Linked DNA regions of Homo sapiens: regions 2, 3, 4, 5, 6 and 7 are each linked to region 1. Evidence: promoter capture Hi-C in 16 types of primary human blood cells and fetal thymus (Javierre and others, 2016). All regions are on one chromosome and are shown on one strand. Each heading gives the region's core, a stretch centred on a gene start or on the middle of the fragment in contact. The rest is flanking DNA. Distances are from core to core; before and after follow the strand shown. Region 1 holds the start of MCTP1 (multiple C2 and transmembrane domain containing 1). Region 2 overlaps MCTP1 (multiple C2 and transmembrane domain containing 1). Region 3 has its middle 4.4 kb from the start of RFESD. Region 4 overlaps MCTP1 (multiple C2 and transmembrane domain containing 1). Region 5 has its middle 5.7 kb from the start of GPR150. Region 6 overlaps MCTP1 (multiple C2 and transmembrane domain containing 1). Region 7 overlaps MCTP1 (multiple C2 and transmembrane domain containing 1).

Region 1 (3,088 bases), core at 194-2,693:
GTAAAGTCCGGGTGCAAGTCAGAACTCTTTCATCTTTGCTAAACCAGAGCGAGATGTTTTCTTTCGACTGTTTCATCTACTTAGAATTAATAGCATTTCTCCTCCCGCCTCCCGGCCCCCGCCCCCCGCTCCCCGGGTGGTGAACGCCTGAAGAGGGAGGCGTGGTCCCGCGCACCTTGTCTCCGGCCGCGCCACCGGCACTCACCTGGCTGCTGCCGTGCTCCTCGCCCGTCTCCGGGGCCCGAGACTCCGCGGGACTCCGCGCCGGCTCTGCGGGAGGAGGCGGCGGCTCCAGCAGCTGCTCCAGGCAGGCGGTGCCCGGCAGAGAGGAGCTCTTCTGGTGGCACAAGTGCGCCCCGGGGCCCTGACGCCGTGCACCCTCATCTCGGGCGCGGTCCCCCCTCGGGGGAGGCTGGGGCGAGGAGGACAGGGAGGATGAGGCGGAGGAAGAGGAAGGAGCTGAGTCGGGGGAGCGTCCGCCAGGAGGCGTCCCTCCCGCTGCTCCCGAGGCCGCCGCGGGCCCCTTTACGGCGGGGAGCAAATGCTCGCGGATCCGGCGGCGTAGCGTGGACCCCTGCTCGGCTCTGCCGGCGCCGCCGGGCTCCAGGGGCTCCGGCGACGAGCAGCACAGGTTGGGCTGCGAGGAGGAGAAGACTCGGTCCAGCACTTGCTTCCGCTTCTTGAAGCCGCTCCACCTGCTGCCTGCACCACTCCCCCTGGCCGGTGCATTCCCTGTGCCCACCGGGGGTGGCGGGGAGGGCGACGGGGTGTCCGCAGTGCGGCGCTCTGGACCCCCAGCGCGCCCGCCCCCGCCGCCCTTGCTCCTGCCCACCCCCAGCTGCAGGTTCTTCCAGAGCCGGGCCTGGAAGGAGGAGGACGCCGCCGGCGGCTCTGGCTCGCCCGCCGCGGCAGCCCGGGGCTCCATCCTCCACCCCCTGCTCCTCCTCTCCCCTCCTCCTCCTCCTCCTCCTCCTGCTTCTCCTCCCTCTTCGGCTGCACCTCCTCCCGGGTCCCCGCGGCGCTGGCGGTGGCGGCGGCGGCGGCGGCGGGCGCAGCAGCAGAAACCGGGAGTGCCCAGCGACTTCAGGCCAGCTCGGGGGAAAGAAGCGGCCGCCGCCGCCGAGGCTCTCTGGCCTCGGGACTCCGGCGCTGCCTCTTCCTCCCGCACCTGCTGGGGTGGGCTGGAGCCGTAACCGAATCCCGGCCGCGGCGCCTGCAAAGTTTTTCCCTCGAAGCTCCGCGGCTCCAGTCCACTGGCGTCCCCCAGGCCGCGCCCTGGCTCCCTCTTCTCTCTGACCGAGCTCGGGAAGCTGCACGCACCGGGGCGTGCGCGTCCAGCTGCGCCAGGGACCGCACCCGGCGCCCTCTGGGCAGCACCTGTCAGCGGCGGGGGCGGCTGCCTCCAAATTGGGCGCGCACGCGGCTCACACAACAAGGCGCGTCTGGCTGGAGACTCCGGGGACCAGCAGTCCCCCTGGGGCGCCCCGGGACCATCCTCCAGCTCCTAGGTGGGAGGGCCGGTAGGAGCCGGGTGGAGCTAGGTAGGGCCCGAAGCCAGCTTGCTCCCTAGGATCCGGCCACAGTTGCCCAGGCAGCTCGCTGTGCGCTGGCCGCTGGCCGCGCTGGCGATCGTCTGGGTCGGATGAAGCGAGCTGGAGTGGAAACTATGTGCCCTCGATGGGTCTCGTGGGGGCGCCGATCGTCCACACTGAGCGATGAACCCGACGGAGTTCTAAAGCTGAAGACGTCTGCCCCCGCCCCGTTGCGCTCCCTGGGTCCAAGACGAGAGTTTAATTTCTTCTGTCTTGACTTCATCCCCATCCACCCCTCCCTTTTCTTTATTTGCCTCTGCACTGGTCTCTTATGATCAGGTTCTAGCATTTCCGGAGTCTGACGATAAAGCCAGCCCTTAAGTTGCAGGGAGTTTACGGTGGACGAAGATGGGTGATGCGCACTGCCTTTGATCCGATTCGGCACGCACAGAATCTTGTTCTTTTCATTCAAGCGCATTTTTTCTTTGGTTACTTCATTTGCTTGTTGCAAGGCAAACGGAAAAGGCTTTTTAGCTCATTCAGACTTTGCTTCTCCCAAAGCTGCTCAGCCAGGGTCTTCTGATTCTGCTAGGAGAGACTTCTGAAAGGCCAGCAACACAATGCCTCTTTCGTCCTCCTAAATGGGGAAAACGGGAGAGTTCCCTAAGCTGCGGTAGCACACTGATCAGTCTTGTCTAGCTAGCAGTATGCTTTGGAGGTGTTACCAACCTAAGTTTTTTGTTTTGTTTTGTTTTTGTTACCTTTATAACAAATATTTATTAAGCACCTACTATATACCAGGCACTGTGATAGGCTCTGGGGATGCAGCTGTGAACAGGGCATCAGGGTCCCACCCACATGGAGCTTATTGTGAGGGTGAGGGTTGGGAGGTGATGCGAGACAATAAACAGAATTTCTAATATGCAAAAGTCCCATGGAAACAGTTAAGCAGGGTACCACATAACAGAGTGGCTACAGAGGAAGAGCTTCCAGACAAAATGCAGGACACCCAATTAAACTGACTTTCAGAGAAACAATGAATAATATTAGTATATGTATGTCCCAAATATTGCATGGGACATACTTATACTAAAATACTATTATTTATCTGAAATTTAAATTTAACTGGGTGTCATGTTTTTGTTTGCTAAATCTGGCAGCCCCATATGGAGAGGTTTTTGGTTTTTTACATTATGTGTACAGGGAGAGTCTCTCTGAGAAGATAAAATTTTGAGTTAAGACTTAATGAGGACAGAGAACCAGCTATTGACGGATCTGACTGTAGAATTTCAGGTAGAAGGAACAGCAGATACAGAGGTCCTGAGGCAGGAAGCAGCTTGACTGGGCATATTCAAGGACAGAACGATACCACTCCAAATAGAGTAGAGCAAGGTGGGTGGGGTTGGTAAGAGATGTAGTGAAACAAAAGGTCAGCTAAGGGAGTGGGTCCTATAGCCAGAGTGAGAGTCCATGTTTCCTCTAAATGAAATTGGGAGACATTAGAGGTCTTTTTTAATCGTGAGGGTAATGTGATGTGATTTACTAATACTAATGCC
Region 2 (3,088 bases), core at 316-2,815, 350 kb before region 1:
TATGAAATCTGGTAGCATACTTTGAAGAGATGAGAGAGATCTGGGAAAGCAGATGATAGTTCTGCTCAACAAGAAAAGCTGAAAGATCACAAGCTAAGAATTACCTTACTTGATCTTTTCCAACTCTTCCTCATTAGCATTGTCTGTAAATAAAATAAAGCATTTTCATTATCTTTTCACTCAAGAACAGAATAGGGCAGCCAGTTGTTTTTTAGCGGAAACATTTATTAGCCCTTGAAACAGCGAACAGTTCCTGCAGCAATTATACAACACAAAACTTGTTTGCCACGCACACACAACTAGAGAAACAACTTTAACATTCCAGCAGTCTTTCTGGTGAGAGTTCATTTGATTTATTCCTTTGTAAAAAAAAAAAAAAAAAAAAAAAAAGGAACAGTATCGGGATGCCTTTATTGACTGAAAAAAAACACATTGAGTCTCATAATTTCCAATGGCTCCTTTTGGTGGTGGAGGTTGAGGTTGTACATGACTTGAACAGGTATATAATAATTTTTCTCTTCAAACACATTCAAAATCTTTTGCTTGGATGGCATCGTAGAATTGTCTCTGTTTCCAGTTAATCTTTAACTACATCAGGGCCTACAAATGCTTTCAATTAAAAACAAATGCTGCATACTGTGATGGCTACTAGTGTATTTTCCTGCTAAACGTTTAGTGAAAGCATATCCTTTAAATTAGTTAGCTTGTGTCATACTAAGAAATATGTATGGCCAAAAGTTTTAATTAAGGTTCTAGAGCTTTGTAATGCATCCCCAAGATCACTAATCTCTTGAATAAACTAAATCATAAAAGCCCAACGAATTTTTTTGTTTTCTCTCTTCACTTTAAAAAATTTCTCAATGAACACTGAAGTATTAACCTTCCTGATTAACCTCTTTCCCCTCTCTTTGCTTTACTATTATGTTTAAGGCAGATGAAGTGGAGAATAGGAAATATTCAGGGCAAGGAATATAGCTTAAAGTGCTTGTGCCATATTTGTGTATCAGGGAAATGTACTTTAAGAACTGTATCTCTTTCAGGAGGATTCACCATAAAAAAGAACCATGTCAGAAACTATTCATGGATTAGAATAACACAAAAATGAAAAGATTTTTAATATAAGATGAGGGCAACCTTTAACCTAAACCACAAGAATGAATTTAGACATTCTAGGGTAAAAACTAAGACTAGCGTAACATTTTCAAAGATAATTATATGTTCCTCTTTTATGTTTTCAAAGATAATTATATGTTCCTCCTTAACAAAGACTGTTAAATGTTGACCAAAACATAAAAGAATAATAGATTTCCTAAGGTTACAATGATTCCTCATCACGCCTACTTTTTTTTTTAAAGTCAGGAAACTGCAAAGCACTGTTATCAAATACTATTATAGAAATACTTTATGTTTTCAAAGTACTAAATGTCCAGTTCATTTTGAAGCAACAAATCCCAGCATTGGGTTATAGAGGTGGCCATCTAGGGGGACATGTACTAAATCTTTACTTTTGATGTTACATGATTTATTATCATCAGTATCATCATCATCATCACCACCACCATCACTTCCTCCATCATCACCAAAAGGCAACTGGAAACCAAATATTTAAGTGGTATACCATATTTACAAAAACTGCCCCATAAGAGTTGGATAATAAACACTCAACTTTCTCACCAAGCAGAGTTTCAATGGACAAAGAATGGTATATCCTAGAGATGATATTTTGAGTCAAATCAATCAAGAACTATTAAGATACATAAAAAGTACAATCTACAATTCATGGTCACTTATCATCATTATCTAGCATCTAAGAATTTTATAATATAAAATTCCATTATATAAGAAATGTTATGCTATGTAAAAGGGCCTTAGAACATTAGAAAGAGTGAAATCTCATGGCAACACTAGCCAATATTACAAGGATTCCACAAAGTCACATCCCCTGACTCACAAGGACCACATACAATTAACCTTCTATAGTAAACAAAACATAGGACCAGTATTTGTCCTGTCTCTCAAAATCAGCTTTATAAGCAGGCTGCATGGTTTTATTTTTCAGATTGAGAAACTGATACAATAAAAAGTCAGTGATTACCCTAAGTATAAATAGGAAAGATTTAGCAGTTATGAGAACCCATTCACTATTTTCCTAATTCAGTATCTAAAGTTCTATTACTATATCCAGTAACTCTCAAAATGACCCTAGATTTTATAACATTTCTGCCTCTTGAGCCAAATCTACTACCAAAGCAATGGGTTTAAGTATCTCACTTCCAAGTCCCTTTTTCTTTTAGGTAGTTGAGTTAAGGTCGATTCAATAAAACTGAAAACAGTAGAAAAATTAAAAAGAAAATTTAATATATATACTATTAATAATGTTTTCTTTGCTATCTGTGAGACATGTTAGAGAAGAAAGATTGGGGATTGTGAAAGATAGAAGATGAAGCAAATTATAGAAAAATAAGATTTATTTTTTTGCTCTATGATCTTAACTTCAGCTGAGAAACATATGAATTAATTTTTGAAAGGATTATTGCCTGATATTATTATAGTACAATTCAAATTCTTCATTAGCAGCTCAACTTCCTTGAAGCCAGTAAAAGGAATGAAGTAGCATAAAAATATGGCTTGTGATAGAGCTGCAGAAGTAATTGTTTTTAAAAGACTCCACGATCTCAATCCATTTTTTAATTTTTATCTTTTGTTGAAGTGACTTTTTAAGGCGATTATATAACTACTGTACATATAAAGAAATCACAGAATTAGATACAATAGTAACATACATCTTGTAAAGCATACATATATCAACTTTTTGTAGGTAGATATTTCTTCAAATGTTGGCTGTGTAATAATTCTGAAGAATATCAAAACTAATCCAAGATAAAGAAGTTTTTTTTTTTTTTTTTTACTCATCAAAGGCCAACTGAGATCATTCATATGTTTCTTTGAATTTTCTATTTTTTAGCCTTAGGCAAGCAATTTGTAGGTCTAGGTTATTTAAGAGAGTGTGTAACACAAATTAACTCACTTTTATTTCACAAATTCTCCAATGAAGAAAGCTGTGGATTGAACTCTGCTAGAAAAAGAG
Region 3 (3,088 bases), core at 228-2,727, 360 kb after region 1:
TACACATTTTACAAAAACATTATTATCATTATTCCTCCCTGTCTTCTTTCTCCTTTCTGAACAATTCAGTCCTAAAGCCAGTAGGTGGGACAGAGCGGGGAAGACACACATGCTGGCTAGGGGGATGAGAAGGAGGAGTGACCAAGGTGGCTCACAGAGGAGTGTCAGAGCCCTAGTGGGATAGATGGCAACATGGTGTAGTGACATAGCACGGCCAGCTCAAGCCCAGTGGGAAGGGAATCAAGGGGCAGCCTACAGAGGCTCAAAGTCCAGTCTCTGTGATGTGCCTTCATTACCTGAATCTAATCAGGAGGAAACATCAGATGAACTCAAACTGAGGGATATTCTACAAAATGAATGGCCTGTAATCTTCAAAAATGCAAATATCATAAATGTTAAAGAAAGACTAAGGAGATATCTCAGACTGAAGAAAGCTAGAGACATGAAAACTAAACATACAATCTTGATTCTGAACTGAATTTGAGGATTAGATGGTAGTGTGTCAGTGTTAACTTCCTGATTTGGATGGTTGTATTGTGGTTATGTAGAAGAATGTCCAGATTTGGAGAAAATACATACTAAAGCATTAGGGACTGACGGGGCATCAGATTGGTACTATACTCTCAAATGGGCGTTTGGGAATAGAGTTTCCCTGTATTTTTCTGTATTTTTGTGTTTGTTACCAAATTATATATAATTATATATGTGAGGGGTAGGGGTGAGAGGGCGAGAGCATATGACCATGTGAACACATTACTAGTGTCCCTCAGGACCTCAGGATCTTGGAAGGCCCCATGCAAATATGGGAACCTGAAGCTTCAGTTTCATCAATATCACTACCTCTAACTGCAGCAAACCTGACTCTACCCACTACTGTCTGAAAGGCCAAAGTCCTTAAAGACATAATTTAGACCTTGTCTTAGTTATACCTGCTTTCTTAGGTCTTTGTGGCCTCCCTATCTCTGCTAACACTCAGTGTAGCAGAATGAATATGTTCTGAATGTTGTTGAAGGTCAAGGAGCAGCAGCTTGCACCCGAGGCCCACGTCACCTAAAGCTCTCTGGGGTTTGCCTTTGCTGGGCCCACATAGCTCTGTTGTGTGTATTTGCTAAGCCTGGCTTGGTACAAATGGCCAGTGTTTTGCTTCAGGCTCAATGTAGGTTCGGTGGTATTTGCTGATCAGACTCTCTTCTCCACACCCCCACTTACGTCAGCTGTGTATCATTTGCTTAATGCTCAGGACTTGGAGTCCCACCAGGAAGATAAAAATCAGCAGTGAACAAGAAGTGTTTCAGCTAGTCAAATCTCCAACCTTCACTCACTTCTCCTGGTATGCTCAGCTTAGCTCCTTTCTTCTTTCTACAGATTTGTGTACCTGTAGAGAGGGTACAATCTAGTCTGTCCGCTAGAGAGGACAGTTTTAAGAGAGTTTTGATACATAAGTTTAATTCAGGAGGCTGTTAGTCCCTTTGGCTGCATGTTTAAGCCACCCCAATTGAGACGTTCATAATTAAATAAAGCTCACACCTTGATCTCTTTCTGTGTCTCTCAACTGGTTCCAAACTCAGGCAGAAAATAAAAGAAAGGTGTTATTGGGCCCTCTCAAAGTCCAACACAAATAAAAGATGATGGTACCTTCAGGGTGGTGATAGCAGATAAGGTAAGAAGCGGTGTGATTTCAGATAAATTTTAGGAAGAATTGGCAGGACTCAGTGCTGGATTAGATATGGGGGGATATCAAGGGTCCCTAAGACCCCCTTCACATTTGGAGATTCACTAGATTCTGGGACTCATTACAGTTACGCTATTACAGAAACGTAGTAAGGATACACAGCTGGATTGTAAAGAAAAAGACTCAGGCAGAGCATGGAAGACTTCGTGTGCAGGATTCCTAAGTGTTCTCCCTTTCGCGAGGGGTCACACAGACTGCATTCTTCCTCCAGAAATGAAAATGTAGAAACATGCCTGCAATGTTTTTGCCAGGGAAAGACTGAGCCTCAGCAGCCAGAGTTTTTACTGGACATTGGTCACAGGCACCTCTGCCTAGCAGGTACCAAGTTCTAGAATCTCAGAAGGAAAAGCAAGTGCATTGTTTGTACAAATAGCTTACGCACAGGGAATCACTTTTATTATTTAGGGAAAGCTTTGTATGTGTAGGTGTAGGTGTCGGATAAACTCACCTGATAGTAATAATTTATGCATACCCTCAGAATGACCCCATATGGCAGATGCACCTGAATGTATGTTCTGAGCTAGGGAATCTGGGAGTAGCTAACCTGAAGAGTCATTCTTTATCTATGAGAAACATCTAATATAGGGGACTGAGGCCCTGAATTTTGGGATACATGAAGGTTGCCAGGTGGAGATTGTTAGGGGGAGGGTATAAAGTGAAAATACCATATAAACTGCATGATGGTTGCAGGCGGTTGCAGTTTTCCTGCCCATCCCACCACCACTGGACTCTGTAAGCACCTAATAAAACACCATGTTTTGTTTGCTGGCTCTAGGTCTCTTCTTCGGCCTCTTGAACCTGGTTCCTTTCCTACTGAGGTTAATAGGGCTTTGGCACGACAGTAAGGGACTGTTTACCTGCCAAGTTCTCACATGTCAGCGAAGGGCCAACCTTACAAGCAGACCTTTTTAAGGATAGCAGTCTCAGGTCAGCTATGCGAACTCCTTTCTCTACAGACGGGCAGGAAGGGGTGCGACAAGGAAAAGGGAAGAGTCAAGGAAGACATGCAGATTTCTCCCTTAAGCCTGAAGATGGACAGTGTTGTCACTTATAGAGATGGAGAAGACAAAGAAATGCAGATTTATGGGAGAGAACTAGTATTTCGATTTTGAACACAATGAAATTAGAGATAGCTATGAATTATCAGGTTAAACTATTGTATGTTATAATAAAAAACAACCTTAAAATTCCAGGGGCCTTAACATAATAAAAATTTATTTCTCACTTAAGTTATGTGACTTTCACGGCCTAGTGGAAGTTAGGAAATTGGTGGGGAGATGTAGTCTCTGTTCTGCATAGTCACTCAGGGACCCAGGCTGGTGGAGGCTCCACCATCCAGAATGTTGTTAATTCTTA
Region 4 (3,088 bases), core at 204-2,703, 330 kb before region 1:
ACACTGATAGAAATCAGATTACAGGGTACTGATGGACTTCTTTTTCCTGTAATTATAGATAGGAGGGTCGTATACTTAATGTGTTCTAACTATGTAGTTCACAGATGCATTTTCATACTCTCAGTCACTACAGAATTGATTAGTCCCTAAGAAATCTTTTGGGCAAGATTAATAATCTGTTGTGGAGGATGTGGGCATCATATCAGAACTGAGTCACTCAAACACACAGGCCTGCATAGAGACAATAAAAATGATGCAATTTTTATGAAATTCTAATAACTTCAAATGTTATTTCCACCAAGGTACCTTATTTGATTCTTCCCCTAAGATGAGGCAAAAAATGGAACACAAATAATGGAAAAAATAAAGCAAAAAGTTAGAGATTTTCTTTCAAAAAAAGCCCTAGGCATTTTACAGAAAATGAAAATCAACTGAAAAAAAATAGGAAAGCATTTAGAAAGTATATTTAATACTTTTAAAATATTATAAAGTATTGTATATAATAAAGTGACATCATTTTATATGTGTACTAGTATCTCAGAGACTTGTATGATTTCTATTTAACTTAATTGTCTTTCTCATATAGAAATGTAAAAAGTGACAATGTAAAAATGTAAGTAAAGTATAAAAATATTTAAAAGTAACTGTGTATCCTCTTCTGTATGGTAGAAGTTAAATTGTGGCTAGGCTACATAATCTTATATATTGAAAGTTCAAAGTGATTTAAAAAAAACCCAACAACCTTTGGGCTTGCTTTCTTAGTTTCTTTACTCATAGTGTGTGATTAACCAAGCCTTCTGGCCTGCATACAGTGTTGCTGTCTTCATTTACAGTTTATGTACATTTATAGTATATGTATGTGTACTGTATATATGCAGACTATATATATAGAGTATATGTATAGATACATACATATATACACCTATACTGTATATTTATACATATACATACATACATGTATATTCTTGCTCTCAAGTCAAGACCATTTCTGCCACAATTTAAAAAATTTTGGCCAGGCGCGGTGGCTCGTGCCTGTAATCCCAGCACTTTGGGAGGCCGAGGAGGGCAGATCACGAGATCAGGAGATCGAGACCATCCCAGCTAACAAGGTGAAACTCCTTCTCTACTAAAAAATACAAAAAATTAGCTGGGCAAGGTGGTGGGCACCTGCAGTCCCAGCTACTCAGAGGCAGGAGAAAGGCGTGAACTCAGGAGGCGGAGCTTGCAGTGAGCCGAGATCGTGCCACTGCACTCCAGCCTGGGCGACAGAGCAAGACTCTGTCTCAAAAAAAAAAAAAAAAATGATTTTGTGTAAATTTATGGGGTACAAGTACAGTTGTGTTACATGTGTAGATTGTGCATAGCAGTCAAGTCAGGACTTTCAGGGTATCCATCATCTGAATAACATACATTGCACCCATTAAGGAATTTTTCATCATCTAGCCCCTTGCTACCCCCTCATCCTTCCAACTGTCCAGTGTTTATCATTCCACTGTCTATGCCCATGTGTGCACATTATGTAGCTCCCACTTACAAGTCAGAACACCACCATTCTTTTTTTGTGTACTTCAGTTTTTTGTTTATTTCTTTTTGAGCCTAGTAAGACATTCCTTTTGAAAAATGCATCTTGGCATTTGGATTTCTACATAGATGAATACTTATTCTTGAGCACAAAAGAATAAGAAAAGCACCTGACCAATATCTAATATAATTTGAGGAAATTCATATGTAACCCTTTCAAAGACAGGACAGTCACATGGTTCTTTCATGGAGTAATATCCCACTAAGTAGAAGTAATTAAAAATAAACTTCTTTCTTCTCATGATTTTTCACTTCAGCAACATTAATGAGATCCAAACAGCCTGTTGCTGTCCTTATTAATACCTGCTTTCTTTCCTGACCATTTTCTTCATACCTGCCATTGCTCTAACTCATGTCTCCTGATCTCCCACCTCCCCACCCCAGAAATAATACTTCCTTCACAGCCCACTTGTCTTTTCTTTATTCCTTTTTCATTGCCTATCTCAGCTCTTTATTACAAAGATAATTCCTTTTTTTCTCATGTGGATATTTCTTTCTCTCTAGAAGTGAGGAGCAGGGCAGAAAAATCTCTGACCACAAAGGTCTTCCCTTTCGTGGGAGAAGGGTTGGCTACGCACACTCTCATATTAACGTTATTGTGCCATCCCATATTATGTAGTTAAAGACAGTTCAAAAACGCTATTTAAGGCCGGGCACGGTGGCTCATGCCTATAATCCCAGCACTTTGGGAGGCCGAGGAGCACAGATCACTTGAGGCCGGGAGTTCAAGACCAGCCTGGCCAGCATGGTGAAATGCCATCTCTACTAAAAATACAAAAAATAACTAGACATGGTGGTGGGTACCTGTAATCCCAGCTACTGAGGAGGCTGAGGCAAGGGAATGGCTTGAAACCAAGAGATGAACGTTGCAGTGAGCCAAGATCGTGCCACTGCACTCCAGCCTGGGTGACAGAATGAGACTTTGTCGCAAAAAAAAAAAAAAAAAAAAAAGCTATTGAATTGATTTTCTTTAGCCAGTGTCCAATGGAGACAATTTATTATGCAAGTGTGTGTCTATTTGCCCCATAATGACTTATAGAAAATTAACTGTATCCTTATGTATACTTATGAGATTCTCTTTTCAACCTTCTTATAAGCTACCCTCTTGTAATTTCAGTAACAACTTGATTATTTCTTGTTCCTTTCTGTGGAGGAAAGAAACAACTAGAGGTAATACAATGATGATATGAGGGGAAGAAGTATGCCTAGTGATTGCTGAAAGATGAGATTTCTGGCTCATGTGCCAGTAGTAACAACTTAGGGAAAAGGGTGGGATGTGTGCTGTTGTGGTAAAAGTAGAAAAAGGTCTGGTCACTGAATGAACAGTCAGAGCCTAGGAGCAAAAAAGAATATAAGTACCTAGAGATGTAAATTAAAGAAAAGCTGGGCATGAAAATAAAACAAGGAATAGGGCTCAGAATAGGAACTAGGTTGTAACTCCTCAAGTTCTTCTCTTTCTTTTAATTACATCAAACGAGAGGAAAGACTCCCCACCCCCAGCCCCCCA
Region 5 (3,088 bases), core at 397-2,896, 330 kb after region 1:
TAAAACCCAGGACTTTTTGTCATACAAAGCAAAACACATCTGCCACTGGGGCAGGATCAGAAAACACTCTCACCCCCAGTCCTCAGCAAAAGGTCAGCTGTCACTGGGGAGGGGTAGATTACAGCGAAAGCTATCACTGCTAAGCAAGATGGAGAAACCTATTCATGCCCAGAATCTTTGTTACAAAGCAAAGGTTTCTCACAAAAGGGACAGAACCAAGAAATTTGCTCTTGGAAGTTACAAGACAGAATTCAGCTGCCATAGAGGGAAGGGACAGGATTATGGAGAAACTCCCACACTTGAGGCTCAGGCCCCCAGGGCCTGAATAAGACAAAGGTTGGAACAGGAAGGCCAAGAAAGCCACCCTGCCCCCATCATGGGCAGCAAACAGCACAGAACTTCTGGGAGAGGGGCCAAAGCCTGGAAAGAAACATCCCCGTCCCCTCCCCCACTCTGGTGGCCAAGTGTGAAGGGCCAGCTGAAAGTTGGGGATGGAGCAGAAACACTGAGAAAAACCTTCTACCATTCCAGGCCTCATAGTTGAAACGCAAGATGTCAGTATGGAGGAATATGAAGTCAACAGTATAATAATGATAACTGTAGTAACAACAAAATCTAAACCTAGCTCAACTACTGATTAGATTTACCACCCTAGTAGCCTGATGAGTGAAGAGGCATGGCCATTTTCAGAAGTAAACACTATTTACATCAGTCACTCTTATTCTTTTATATATAATGTCTGGCACTCAGTAAAACTTACAAGGCAAAAGAGTTAAAAAGAAAAAAAAAAAAGAAGCCAATTTTCAAGAGATAAAGCAGTAAACAGAACCAGACTGAGAGATGGCCCAGAGGTTGAAACTGTCAAAGTAACTGTAAAAATGCTATGATTAATATGTTAAAGGATTTAGTGGAAAATGTGGACCACATGCACGAACATATACAGAATTTCAGCAGAGATGGAAATGATTCAAAAAAGAATAAATTGGATACACTAGACATGAAAAACATGTTATTATGGATGAGGAATTCCTTCAATTGCCTTATCAGCAGACTAGAGATAGAAGAAAGAATTAGTAAACTTGACTACAGGTTAGAATAGAAAATTTTCAAAATAAAATCCTGAATTTCAAAAGGTGGCAAGCCCCTCTGAGGAGAGCTGGAACAGAGAGGGGAAAAAAGAGAAAAAGAAAAAGTGGAGAAAAATAGAGCATCCAAGAGCTGTGGGACAGTATGAAATGGCATAATATACATGTAATTCAAGTCACAGAAGGAGAATAGAAAGAGATAAAAGGTCGGAAGAAATAATTGAAAAGATAATTGCTGAGAATTTTCCAAAATTAATAAAAGACAACAAATCACCAACCTAAATGTTTAGAGAAGCCCAAGCAGAATATATACAAAGGGCTAGGCCCGGTGGCTCATGCTTGTAATCCCAACATTTTGAGAGGCCAAGGCGGGTGGATCACCTGAGGTCAAGAGTTTGAGATCAGCCTGGCCAACATGGTGAAACCCCATCTCTAATAAAAATACAAAAATTAGATGGATATGGTGGTGCATGACTGTAGTCCCAGCTACTTGGGAGGCTGAGGCATGGGAATCACTTGAACCCAGGTGGCAGAGGTTGCAGTGAGGCAAGATAAGGGGAAAATCTTGAATGCAACCACAGAAAAAAAGAAACACTCCAAAAAAAGAAACCAGCCAGGCACGGTGGCTCATGCCTGTAATCTCAGCACTTTAGGAGGCATAGCTGGGCAGATCACCTGAGGCCAGGAGTTCGAGACCAGCCTGGCCGCGTGTGGCACTCACCTGTAATCCCAGCTACTTGGGAGGCTGAGGCATGAGAATCATTTGAACCCGGGAGGCAGAGGTTGCAGCGAGCCAAGATTGCACCACTGCACTCCAGCCTGGGCGACAGAGCAAGACTCTGTCTCAAACAAATAAACAAACAAAAAGATAAGAATTACATCATTACAAAGATGAGCAAAATGTATCAAGCACTATGCAAACTAGAAGACAATGGTGCAACTTCTTTCAAGTACTGAAAGAAAAACTCATCATAGAATCCTATATGCCCAGCAAAAGTATCTTTCAAAAATGTAGGTAAAATAAAAACTTTATAAGACAGAAAAAAAAAAAAAGAAAACTAAGAGAATGTGTTGCCAGCAGATCTGAACTATAAGAAATGTTAAAGGACATTCTTTAAGCAGAAGGAATATGATCTCAAATGAGAAACTGCATCTACGCAAAGGGAGAAACTGGAAAACTCATACAATGATGGTGGGAAGGGCCCAGTCTCTATGGAAAACAGCTTGGCAGTTCCTCAAAAAGTTAAACATGAAATTCACATATGACTCAGCAATTTCACACCTAGGAATATACTCTAGAGAACTGAAACAGGCATTCGCAGAAAAACTTGTACACAAATATTCATAACAGAATTGTTCACTATAATGAAAACAACCAAAATGGAAACAGCCTAAAATAGAAACAACCCAAATATCCATCAGCTGATGAATGGATAAACAAAATTTGGTGTATCCACATAATGAAATATTATTTAGCCATAAATAATGAAATACTGTTACATACTACAATGTGGATGAAACTTAAAAACATTATTCAAAGCAAAAGAAACCAAAAACAAAAGGCTACATTATGTGATTGCATTTCTATGAAATGTCAAGAATAACCAAATCCATAGAGTCAAAGGAGACTAGTGGTTTCTAGGTGCTGGAAGAGGAAAATAATGTGTACGGGTTTATTTTGGGAATGATTTAAAAGTTCTGGAATTAGATAGTGGCAGTGGTTGCACAAACTTGTAAATATACTAAAAAGCACTGAATTGTATACTTTAAAATTCTAGATTTTATGATATATAAAGTATATCTCAATTTTTAAAATGAAGAAATAATGAAGTGTTTTCATCTATGAGAATGACAAACGCTGATGATGCTCATATTGTTGGGGCTATGGGGAAAAAGACACATACATTGCTTGCATCCCTTGTTGAGAATAACTCAGTACTATATGTTAAAATGCATTAAAAATGCACGTGCTCAGCCTCAGCAATTCCAATGACAGGATTTTA
Region 6 (3,088 bases), core at 210-2,709, 310 kb before region 1:
ATTCTCCAAGCAACAGGTGTGGCCATGTACCCATGTCCTTCCTGGTAGGATGTGAGAATAAGTGACCTATGCAACTTCTGGGTCTTATGGTGAAAATGGAGCAGTTGCTTTAGACAAGAGATGGAAACCACACAGTGATGAGAGCAGAACCATATCATCAGCTCTAGATCTTTCTGGGGTTCATGTGGAAGAAAATATAATTTTAAAAATTATCAGAAAAGTTGGGTCTCTTGTTACCAGAAGCTTAGTTTGCATCCTAAATCATTCTAATTAAGAAACAACTTTTCAAATAGATTTTCCTTCTAGAAAAGCATGTTTCTTAATTAGAATGATTCATATGACTTCACAGAGCCAATCAATTTTGTGTGAGTCCCATTCAATTCAGTTTAATAAGACTATGGGGGATGAACCAGCTTTTCCCATAGCCTGGCCATTCTTAGGCAAGGGGGTTTCTCATTTACAGAACTGAAAGGCAAAGTCCACTAAATGAACAAAAAAAAAACCACTGGGTTGAGGAGGGAGAGAACTAACTTTCTTGAGTATCTACTGTGTGCCTTGTGCTTTTAATACAATATTTTATTTAGTTATAACTCTAGCCCTGTGAGTTGGGTTAAACTAGCACAAAGGAGGCATCTAATAAATGTTTGTCAAGCAAATGAATAAATTAGTATTCTCAGTATTTTACAGATGAGTAAACTGGTTCAGAAAGATTAGGCTGCTTGACCTGGTTACCTAACTTGTAAGCAGTGGCAGCTCTAGAATCCATTACAAGAGCTATTTGATTCTAGATTCCAAATTTACTTCATTACACTGTGATGCCTAACCATCGTCATCTTTTCCGATCAACCGACTTGTCCCGTCTACCTCAAACTATTATTTTTGGGCTCAGCCCTTCCATAATCTATCTCCTGGTTCCCCCATGAGAGACAAGATTGTATACTAGGGAAGCCATGGATCTCAATCAATTTGGCAATTATTAATTCTGTGCCATTAGCATAACAGAGTATTGGTTACACCCACTCAGTGAATTTGACGGGGAAGATGAGTTATTTAGTGTCTTTTGTCTCCATTAGACCAAAAATAGTATGAAGACAGAGACCATTTTTGCATCCCAGAACCTGCCACAAAGCAGGTACTCAAGTGCTCAATAAATATTTGTTGGCTTGTATGAATGACATACATTACTGTTAATATATTACCTTTGCTAAGCTAGGCACTTATTCAGAAGCCTAAAACTGGGTGTCTTTCTGCAACAAATAAAATTGCTTAATGGTGCTCTATAGAAAAATATAATTAAAAGGTATGAGATTGCTTAGTATATTTCTGAGGGGGATGAAAAGGCTCATGACCACTCCATCTGTAATAGAGATGGTTTAGTGTGGTACAGGGTAGTTCACAGTTCGACCTCCAAGTTAGAAAGCCTGGGTTCCAATCTCTGCTCCTGCACTTACAAGCTGTGTGGACTTGCACAAGTAGAAGATGCACATAGATAGAAATGGAGACGATTATAGAACCTCCTTAAGGTCATTGTGAGGGTTTAATTACATAATACATATCAAGTACTTAGCACAGTTCCTCCCACAAAATAAACATTCAATAACTATTAGCAATTTTTCTTCATCTTACTCAACATGAAGACAAAGTAATATAATTACTTAACAATCTGAAAACTTGACTCAATATAATTAAATTTAAATAAAGAACTACAAACATATTAAAATGGTTATCAAATCTCTGATTTCATATGTGGAATGATTTATTTCAATTGAGATAACAGTTACTAATTATCTATTTTTCCTAATCATTTAGGAATACATAAATAGAACAAGCACAGTGTCTCACACTTGTAATCCAATGCTTTGGGAGGCCACGGTGGGAGAATTTCTTCAGGTCAGGAGTTTGAGACCAGCCTGGGCAACAACAGTAAAACCCTGTATCTACAAAATTTTTTTAAAAAATTAGCTGGGCATGGTGGTATGCCTGTAGTCCCAGTTACTTGGGACACTGAGACAGGAGGACTGTTTGAGTCTAGGAGTTGGTGGCTGCAGTGAGCTCTCATTGTGCCACTGTACTCCAGCCTGGGCAACAGAGCAAGACCCTATCCCTGAAAAATAATAATACATAAGTATACAGCAAAAAGTAGTAATTATTATTTTCAGAGGATTCATTGGCTTTGTTAAGTCAAGAGAAAAAGCCTATAATTAATTACAAATATTATATAAATAAACCTAAGTATCAAAAAAGTGCCATTAAAATAACCAGATCCTATAGAATATATGCATGAAAAAAATGATTATGACCCTAAAAAAAACCAAAAAAATCTCCTTATCAGCTAAAACCATAAGTAATAACAATACAAATAGTTGCACGACTTTTGTAGATTAATTACTATCATTAACTGGAATAATTTCAAGCAATTATATTACAATGTGATTAAAATACATCACAAATGACCATGGTAATGAAATAATACATTTCTTAGACTATTCATATATTCACTTTGAGAAAAAAGGCAAGCCAATGGTCTTCTATTTGTCTCCATGCTTCTAGTCTTCCTTATTTCAATTCATTCTCCAAAATCTTACGATTGTTTTTCTGTTATTCCCTTGCTTTTAATTCTTCATTTCTTTCTCAGTGATTTTAGAATGGATCAGGGAAGGTGTCCAAGCAGCAGTGAAGCTTGAATAAATACTGAAAGAAGACTGGCCATGGTGGGGTAGGACACTCAAGACAAAGGGAAAGGGGTGAAGAGGGGCACAGCATGTGTTATGGACTGAATGTTTATACCCCCGCAACTCCCTGCCAAATTCGTAGGCTGAAACTCTAGTCTTCAATGTGATGGTATTTGGAAGTAAAGACTTCAGGAGGCGATTAGGTTTGGATAAGGTCATGAGGATGGTGCCCTCCTGATGGGATTAGTGCCCTTATAAGACAAAGAAGAGACACGGGAGCTCTCTCTTTCTCCATGCACTGAGGAAAGGCCTTCTGAGCACACAGCAGGAAGGTGGCTGTCTACAAGCCAGGAGGCAGGTCCTCACCAGGAACCCAATCTGCTGGCACCTTGATCTTAGACTTCCCAGGCTTTAGA
Region 7 (3,088 bases), core at 280-2,779, 290 kb before region 1:
CTAACTTCACCAATAACGTTTTAGTTAATATGATGCTAAGTATAATAATGTTGAGGATGATGATGATGATGATGATGATGATGAAAACAGATTATCAGAGGACTTACTTTATGCCTTTTTCTAAAACCTTATGTGTAGAATCCCATCTACTCTTTAGAACAAGTGTAGGAGGCAGATGCTTTTGTTATCCCCATTTTGAAGCTTATTCAGTGACTTAGTTCTGGTCTGACACCAGACCTGTGCTGTAGCAAATGCTGTGGGTAGCCAGCCATATCCTGTCTGCACTCTCAGTTCTCCTACACAGTATCTCCAATTCCAATCTCAAGCTCCTACGACTTTATGCAGCCACAGGAGTGCGTTTGGCCCATGCATAGGCCAGGCCACAGGTACAATGTCTTTGGGAGTAGGGCTTAACAGATGGCAAATGGGAATTGCTAAATAAATACCCATCTTTTTGGTTCCTCAGTGGGACTTGCTGAGAACTCTACACTTGTCCCAGAGGTCCCAGAGGCCCTCTTAATTCACCCTGTGTTGGCCCCCATCCCTTCCCCATCTCAACCTTCCTTTTATCTGCCTTAGCACTGCTTTCCGGAATTGTCTCTCAAAGAAAGACAAATTCCTGTCTCAGAGTATGCTTCTGAAGAACTCAACTTAAAAACATGGTCTTTTCTTCTATGACAGACTGCTAATAAAATATCATTTAAAAGAAATTAACTGAAGTTTGAGAATTTTTAAACTTGATTATGCTTTTGGGAAAAGCCATTTATTTTAGTTATTCTTATAACTTACACTCACAGAATTTCTTTAATAAAGAACAAAGCTTTGTTCATTCTTTTTCAATTCAACTAGGATTTATTTTCAGATAACTTTTTTTCAATACGTAGTAAGTTCCCAAAACACTAGAAGTTTTAGAAAAAGTTAAACATACAATGTTTGTAGTCATTGCCTTTGAGTACATTTTGACATAAAACTAGAATCCTTTAAAATACTAAACAACTCAGCAGTCTACACTTTAAAAATGTTTAGAGGGATAAATTGATCATTCTTCAACTATGAAGAAAATTTCACTTCAGGTCATAATTACGGAGCATCTACACGTATTCACAGTGGACAAAATCTATGCAATACAGAAGTGTAAAACAACACCTGGAACATAATAAATGATGAACTCATGCTGTAAAGATAATGTCTCTTTTTTTCCCAGGACTATTTTCTCTTCATAGAGCCATGACTTTACATTTCAAAGGGTTGCAAAGACCTAGGAACCTTCCCTTATTTTCCCAAGAGATGATTTGTTTATATTAGAAAAACTAAATCTTTTTCTCTCTCTCAAGATGGGATGAGGGGCTGCTGTGCAACAGCTTTTACAGAAACTCTAAATGGCATAGTTTTGGGGCTCCTCTCCAGCAATCCAACCCACTGTAAATGCAGCTGCCATCTGTTCTCATTGCATCCCTCCACAGGGGGAGAGTACAGATGGGGAACTGAACCGTAAATAATGTCTGGCCTCTGATCTAGAAACTTTGTGTTTGCTTTTAGGATGAAATAAAGAAATGTAGGCATTAAAAACTTATCAATAAAATGTTCTTGGGAGTGAATCTTTAAATTGGCCTGCAAAGGGCCTTTTCACTTGCAAACAAGATTGCAATAGATTTCAGACACATGCTCAATAACTAAATTGACTAAACGGTTTTTTCCCCACAATTCTGGGAAGACCCATTGAAATTCTCTGCTTCATAGGAACTACCAAAGTCAAGCAGATGTCAACCTTTCGATTAAGGAACAACACAAGAACACGCAAGATTCTGTCCTCCTAAGAGCAGCTATGACCAACAAACTACCAGACTTTTCAAAGACATGGCAATTTGAGCTCAGGTTCAGAGCTCCCTATGTCAAAGTCTATGACCATTTGAACTGGCTCTTATTCTGTGGTTTATGGTATCTTGTCATCTAACCGTAGGCCTTAGAGAAATGAAATTGGCCTGAAGGCCTGAGTGAGGCTGGAGGGACAATTTAGTATACAAAGGACATCAGGAGCTCCAGGAAGAAGAGCCAGAGAGTTTCACGGGTATCTAGAGAGTGTCTTAAATCTGAGGAATTCTGTGGTCTGTGTTTTGTATTTGAGGAATTCCATATAGCTGTGTTACTAGAGTGTGATCAAAACTCTTAGGAAAATAGCCTACGGTGAGTAAATAATCCTTTACTGAGATCTTTTGGCTACATTTGTAGTTTGTCCTAGGAAGCTTTTTTAACATACAGTTTGTGGTCATAGTTTCATTTATTTACCTATGTGTTAAAATTGTATATAGTAATTGGTGTGGCAGTTTTCTGTTTGTCTGCCTGTGACTGCAAGTGATTATCTGTAGTGTGTGTATGTTGAGGGGTGTGATGGTTAATACTGAGTGTCGACTTGATTTGATTGAAGGATGAAAAGTATTGTTCCTGGGTGTGTCTGTGAGGGTGTTGCCAAAGGAGATTAACATTTGAGTCAGTGGACTGCAAAAGGCAGACCCGCCCTCCATCTGGGTGGGCACAATCTAATCAGCTGCCAGCAGGGCTAGAATAAAAGCAGGCAGAAGAATGTGGAAGGACTGGTCTGGGTAAGTCTTCTGGCCTACATCTTTCTCCCATGCTGGATGCTTCCTGACCTTGAACATCAGACTCCAAGTTCTTCAGCTTTTAGACTCTTGGATCTACACCAGTGTTTTGCCAGGGGCCCTTGGGCCTTTGGCCACAGACTGAAGACTGCACTATCGGCTTCCTACTTTTGAGGTTTTGGGACTAGGACTGGCTTCCTTGCTCCTCAGCTTGCAGACGGCCTATTGTGGGACTTCACCTTGTGATTGTGTGAGTCAATTCTCCTACGAAACTCCCCTTCATATATACATCTATCCTATTAGTTCTGTCCCTCTAGAGAACGCTGACTAAGACGGGGGGCAGTGAGATTCTTTAGATATCTTTTACATCCGTGGTTCTCAAACTTCAACATGCATCAGAATCACATAGAAGGTTTCTTAAAACACAGATTCGTGGGTCTCATTTCCAGAGTTTATGATTCAGTAGGTCTGGGATGGGGCCCAAGAATTCA

What was found. The method cuts DNA at HindIII sites, captures the fragments that hold promoters and counts their contacts. A CHiCAGO score of 5 or more calls a contact.
Region 2: a fragment that was not itself captured here is called in contact with the fragment with the promoter of MCTP1 in region 1 in 2 of 17 cell types (monocytes and M1 macrophages); the score reaches 5.7 in monocytes.
Region 3: a contact is called between a fragment that was not itself captured here and the fragment with the promoter of MCTP1 in region 1, in 1 of 17 cell types (megakaryocytes). The highest score is 5.9, in megakaryocytes.
Region 4: a contact is called between a fragment that was not itself captured here and the fragment with the promoter of MCTP1 in region 1, in 3 of 17 cell types (M2 macrophages, megakaryocytes and monocytes). The highest score is 7.9, in M2 macrophages.
Region 5: a fragment that was not itself captured here is called in contact with the fragment with the promoter of MCTP1 in region 1 in 1 of 17 cell types (megakaryocytes); the score reaches 6.6 in megakaryocytes.
Region 6: a fragment that was not itself captured here is called in contact with the fragment with the promoter of MCTP1 in region 1 in 5 of 17 cell types (megakaryocytes, monocytes, M2 macrophages and 2 more); the score reaches 11.4 in megakaryocytes.
Region 7: a fragment that was not itself captured here is called in contact with the fragment with the promoter of MCTP1 in region 1 in 1 of 17 cell types (monocytes); the score reaches 6.1 in monocytes.

Annotation. Positions count from the first base shown.
Region 1 is chr5:95,283,651-95,286,738 of GRCh38, forward strand. MCTP1 (multiple C2 and transmembrane domain containing 1) reads right to left here and starts at 1,444. Exons shown (of 23, transcript NM_024717.7): 1 at 206-1,444. The coding sequence starts at 925. RefSeq lists silencers at 533-652, 733-792. The HindIII fragment of the contact is 7,244 bases long and covers 1-3,088 here.
Region 2 is chr5:94,931,849-94,934,936 of GRCh38, forward strand. It overlaps MCTP1 (multiple C2 and transmembrane domain containing 1), which reads right to left. Exons shown (of 23, transcript NM_024717.7): 6 at 105-143. Among named protein-coding and RNA genes, the nearest start is that of MCTP1-AS1, 45 kb to the right of the region's middle. The HindIII fragment of the contact is 4,524 bases long and covers 1-3,088 here.
Region 3 is chr5:95,640,796-95,643,883 of GRCh38, forward strand. No RefSeq gene overlaps it. Among named protein-coding and RNA genes, the nearest start is that of RFESD, 4.4 kb to the right of the region's middle. The HindIII fragment of the contact is 1,327 bases long and covers 815-2,141 here.
Region 4 is chr5:94,949,662-94,952,749 of GRCh38, forward strand. All of the region lies in intron 3 of MCTP1 (multiple C2 and transmembrane domain containing 1), which reads right to left. Among named protein-coding and RNA genes, the nearest start is that of MCTP1-AS1, 27 kb to the right of the region's middle. The HindIII fragment of the contact is 4,291 bases long and covers 1-3,088 here.
Region 5 is chr5:95,612,884-95,615,971 of GRCh38, forward strand. No RefSeq gene overlaps it. Among named protein-coding and RNA genes, the nearest start is that of GPR150, 5.7 kb to the right of the region's middle. The HindIII fragment of the contact is 4,485 bases long and covers 1-3,088 here.
Region 6 is chr5:94,972,444-94,975,531 of GRCh38, forward strand. All of the region lies in intron 2 of MCTP1 (multiple C2 and transmembrane domain containing 1), which reads right to left. Among named protein-coding and RNA genes, the nearest start is that of MCTP1-AS1, 4.7 kb to the right of the region's middle. The HindIII fragment of the contact is 2,436 bases long and covers 242-2,677 here.
Region 7 is chr5:94,992,238-94,995,325 of GRCh38, forward strand. All of the region lies in intron 2 of MCTP1 (multiple C2 and transmembrane domain containing 1), which reads right to left. Among named protein-coding and RNA genes, the nearest start is that of MCTP1-AS1, 15 kb to the left of the region's middle. The HindIII fragment of the contact is 1,423 bases long and covers 819-2,241 here.